2 separate regions of the Homo sapiens genome follow, and region 2 is linked to region 1. Evidence: promoter capture Hi-C in 16 types of primary human blood cells and fetal thymus (Javierre and others, 2016). All regions are on one chromosome and are shown on one strand. The core of a region is centred on a gene start or on the middle of the fragment in contact, and the rest is flanking DNA. Distances in the headings are between cores, read along the strand shown.

Evidence for each region. Contacts are between HindIII fragments. The CHiCAGO score rates a contact against its expected background, and 5 or more counts as called.
Region 2: a contact is called between a fragment that was not itself captured here and the fragment with the promoter of SEM1 in region 1, in 2 of 17 cell types (M2 macrophages and M1 macrophages). The highest score is 6.8, in M2 macrophages.

What each region holds. Positions count from the first base shown.
Region 1 is chr7:96,708,587-96,711,099 of GRCh38, forward strand. SEM1 (SEM1 26S proteasome subunit) reads right to left here and starts at 1,260. Exons shown (of 3, transcript NM_006304.2): 1 at 1,102-1,260. The coding sequence starts at 1,177. RefSeq lists enhancers at 1,075-1,274, 1,445-1,534. The HindIII fragment of the contact is 9,533 bases long and covers 1-2,513 here.
Region 2 is chr7:96,219,582-96,222,094 of GRCh38, forward strand. The region is part of intron 4 of SLC25A13 (solute carrier family 25 member 13); the gene reads right to left. MIR591 (microRNA 591) reads right to left here and starts at 175; the gene lies at 81-175. The HindIII fragment of the contact is 1,518 bases long and covers 499-2,016 here.

The sequences.
Region 1 (2,513 bases), core at 10-2,509:
TCAACCATCAGCCAATAAAGCAGCCTATTTTGAAAACCTAACTGGCAACAGCAATCTCACAAACAGAAGCAGTACAGCTGAAGTTAAGAGCTTTGGTGTCAATCAGGCCAGGTTTCCCAGTTCCAGTTCTATTATTTCTAACTAGTTATGAGACATCAGAAGGTTTCTTAACCATTCCGAGCTTCAGTTTATCTGAAGAATGGCAATACTGAGGCCTACTTCTTATATTTATGAAAGTGGAATATGCTATTACAAGTAAAGCACTTAGACAAGTTCCTGAAAACAACAGCCACTCAATAAATGTTAGCAATTTGCTATTATCTACAATGAAAAAACCAGGTCTTTAGTTTTGAAGCTAAAAAAAAAAATGTGTAAGGTTTAGGTTCTTTTAAAAAAATATTTTATTTTTGTAGGGACAGGGTCTCGCTATGTTGCCCAGGCTGGTCTTGAACTCCTGACCTTATGTGATCCTCCTGCCTCTTCCTCCCAAACTGCTGCGATTACAGGCGTGAGCCACCACACCCGGCAAGTTTTAGGGTCTTATAAAGCATTAAGTTAGGTCACAGTTAAGTGATCAAAATGGTGAGGAACAGGAATGAGGCAATAATGTGTATTAAGCACCCCGTATCTTACCCTCCTATCCTACTTAATGAGGCTTCATTTGTAACATCCTAAAAGTTAAGCAGCATTGGCGTAACTACTGACAATTCAATTCTGGAAAGGTTTAAAGACAAAGAAAGACTGCTAAAACAAAAAGAAAAGGAGGTTATGTAGACTTGAACTAAGTTTAAGTGGTGAGTAACCCAGGTGAACAGTAAATGGACCAACCATCACAGACGCGGGGCTATGGGTCCAGACTCACGGTGGCTCCTCCCAGTGAGGAAGCCGAAGCCATTGGGCCTCACCAGTGAGTCCCAGCGCAACACCCCAAACCCGAATCTGGGGCGCCACTGAGGGGTGAGCGTTAGCGCCTCGAGTGCCGGCCCTGGGAGTCCAAACTTCCCGCCGGTGCCCCCAGCTGGGCCCGAGCACCCAAGCTACCTCCACACGGAGGCCTGAGTCACCGTTCGCGCGACACAGAAACCGGGGCCCAGCGGTTACCTTCGGCAGGGAACTCTTCAAACTCGTCGTCTTCCTCTAACAGACCTAAGTCTACCGGCTGCTTTTTCTCTGACATCTCGACTGTCCGCGCCCAACACCTCCCAGATAAGCAGAAAAGTTGGAACCCTCACTCTTCCTCAAGGAAACGCCACCGTCACTACCGCCTCCGACGCTGACGCTACCATAGAGACTTGGGGAAAGAATACGGGAGCAGCGCGAGGAATGCTGGGATACTGGAGGTCGGCCCAGCGCTTCCTGCGGGGTTAGCGCTTTTTCCGAGTTGTAGAGGTGATTTTTTTTTTTTTTTTTTTTTGGTCTCTACCTTGTTATTCGGACTCTCTGTATTGCCAAAGTTGAGATCCGTGTAGTTTTCCTGACTATAAGAGACTCATAATGTGTAAAACAAACAAACAAAAAAACCCTTAGTTTGCAACCGAGGAAGGAACTCTAGAGAGACTACAGTGTGACTGCAAACATTCATCAGCCCTTCACATACGTTATTACCTCCAGTCCTTAAGCCAGTTCCCTAAAGGTGGTATTAAATGTCTCCACATCACAGAAAATTCAGGTTCGGTAGGAAGCAGCCGAAGTCACTCAGGTAGTTCTAGACAACCGAAATGCAGATTTTTTTGCCTGGCTCCAATCTCCAGACTTTTCCATTAGGCAGTGTTTATAAGGTCTTAGAATTACTTTGTGGTAAAATAGCTTTTTAAATAGAATTTGTGTGGTGTGTATGTGTGTGTAGTAACTCTGGTTTACAGGTTATTATACAGTAATGCTATTTATGGATTTGTGTAACATTTTATGGTGTTCAAAATATATCATTTAGAATTGTTTGAATAGCATTTGAATATCATTTTGAATACAGTAGTGAACTTCATGGAACTCTATATATAATATATGGATGTATATGGATGAATATTATGGAATATACGTACACAAATTGAGTATTATTGTAAATGTTGATACATGTTCCAGATTATATCTATAAATGCCATTCCTTTATTCAACAATGTAAGGTCATACCGCTTACCAGGAGCTGTGCATCAAACATGTATAGACAAGGTCCCTTTCTTCAAGGAGCTTATATGCTGCTCAGAGACATGTAAACAGATAAATCACAATGAAACACAGTAATCCACTTGAATCTGCATCTTAATATTAGTGAGAAATGAACAGAGTGTTTGGGAATACAGAAAATTGAATAACTAAATGTAGAACAAACTTGGCCAAGAACTACAATTAGATGAAATTTTTAAAAAATGTATCTCTTATACTATTTGATTTATATAGATTACTGAAAATAATGGTATCTCACTACCAAAAAAATTATGTCAGGTAATGCATATCTTATTTAGTGTGATTTAGTCATTATACAATGTATTTGTATTTTAAAACATGTGCTCCCAAAT
Region 2 (2,513 bases), core at 8-2,507, 490 kb before region 1:
TTGTTCATTTGAAGTAGGAACTACATTCCCTTGGAGAGCTTGTTTAAAACACATTCCCAAGCCCCACACCCAAAAATTATGAATCAGTAGATTTGAGACAGAGCCAGGGAGTCCACAGTTAACCAACATTCTACACTATTACAATGAGAACCCATGGTCTACCTCATTGATAAGACTCCCTCCTCCTCTATAATCTGACAGATCTATCAATTCTCAAGATTCATACACTATTTAAGTCATCATAGTGACTGTGAGTCAACAACAACAACAAAATGGCTCAAGGCTGGCAGATATTTAGCGTAAGATATTAACCATCTGTCACACACACTAACTAAATCAACAGAGGGGCCAACTGAGATGTTTCCAATTATCTGCTAGAAAAAGTATTTTCAACTGGGTAGAATAAATCATTATTAGCCTTTCATAATATCAAAAGTAGGTCAATTAAAATGGTGTTTAGAGGCATATAGCAGACTGTGGCCACTCTCCAGATGTGTAAGCTTGCTTTAATCATCTGCTGTGTGTTAATTATTGTTAACTTTCATTACCACTAGAGAATACAACTAATGTTTTAAAATTCTTAAAGCATTACAGAGTCCTAATTCACTCTCTAAATGCAAATATAATATCTATATTGTTTTCAAAAACCTATTTCCTAAGCTAGTTTCCTTAGACGGATATTATCGAAAATTTTCTTGCAAAAGCATTAACATACATTTAACCCTACTTAAATGCTTCAAGAGCAGATGTACTACAAATGTACACCCACAGTGATCCCATATTAGTATAAAACTGTTTTATTTCAATTAAAATGTCTAAGTATCCACCCCCAACATATACCTAAACTGTAATTTTCTCTGAGAATTTCCAATATGTTCTTGATTTTGTTTCCTTTATCAACCTATCAGAGCAAAAACTGCCTTGCAACTGTTGGAAGAAATCAGTCATTAGCAGCAAGATTACAGCAAATTTTCCAATTTAGAAAAACTGTATTTTTATCTCTCTCTTATACCAGAAGAAGAATGGTATAATTTTCCTATCTTTAAATAAGCAGTACAGTTAGTTTAAAATAGTCAAATTTTCCTAGGACTCTAAGTTTCAGGATTTTATGTTAGCTTTCTGTTCTCTACACCTTCTTTCCTACTCACAAGTTCTCTTCACCCTTCATCATGCATGCACATGAACATGCACATACACACACACACATGCACACACAAACACACAGGTGCACATGCACACACAGGGACAGCAGCCCCCAGTCCAGTCTCTCCACTCCCTGACAGGCTTCTAAGGAACAGTTAACCTTCAGGCAGTAGTTAACTAAGGAGTGGCTTCACATGGTTATTTTGATTTGCTCTCCAACTGACATTCTTCCACCTTCTCAACAGGTCTGCCTTCTTTTCTCCCCCTCTCTATTTTTAAAATGGAGTGATGAAGTAGCAAAAAGTACAATATTTTAGCCATTTGAGCACGGGCGATTCTTAAATTATCCCACCAACTGGAAGTGCTCTCTGATACTACTATCTTTCAAAATTGAAGCCATTATGGTCAATCGTGCAAATCCGTATTTAGCTTTTCGTAAATAGTGGATTTTTGACCCAATGAACTGGAACAGTTTCTGGACAGTCTCTAGGATCTCTGAAAAGATACTCAGTACCCAGGCATGCCACAATTCTTATCAACATAGAGACTATTTACTTTCAAAACTCATACTGTTCTTATTCGAAATTCTTACTCTCTATTTGGGATGTAAGCATGTATAAGAGAATATACTCAGCCCCCTCTTTACCTCTCATAAAATAAAATCAAATCTACTGCAGGGCAATATTTTTCTTTCATCAAAATGACACATTATTTTTGTGAAACACCAAAATCAGAACCAATATTAATGAAGAACTTTCCCCAAGTAACGTTTCTTCTGATTCTTCACCACCTTCTCCCTCAGCTATCTTTTCGAATATTTCATTTTCGAAGTGTCTTTACAAAGACAGTAACAAATGACCTTCCTTTCCAGCAAGCTTAAAAATGATGGGTAAAGTCTGCCTTCTTCCAATCCAATACCAGCATTCCTCTAGCTTTATATATTTAATATTAAATTTGAGTGCTTAACTTCGAAACTTCTCATTTCCATACTTTTAACTCCCATCATTTTCTGCAACCTGAATCGAAGTGACTGAGTGGGTGTTTCCACACATTTCCTAATGTCATCTAGCCTACCCATTTTCCCAAAGCACACCAATTTCATCATAGCAGGTGTTCCTGGACACAATCTAAGTTGAACTCAGAAAGGGTCCCTCCAAACAATTACATCCACATCAGAGAATTAACTAACTGAGGACTCGCTTAGAATTAAGAATTAACTAGCTTAGAAATCGCCCCGGTTCTGTGGGTTTTGTTTAGTGGGAGAGACACAAGAGAAAAGTTGGTGCAAATATAATAAGTTTGCTAAACTACAATTTAAACAAAGTTAAATAGATTTATTTTTTCCGCAGGACTTCTCAGAGCCTTAATAA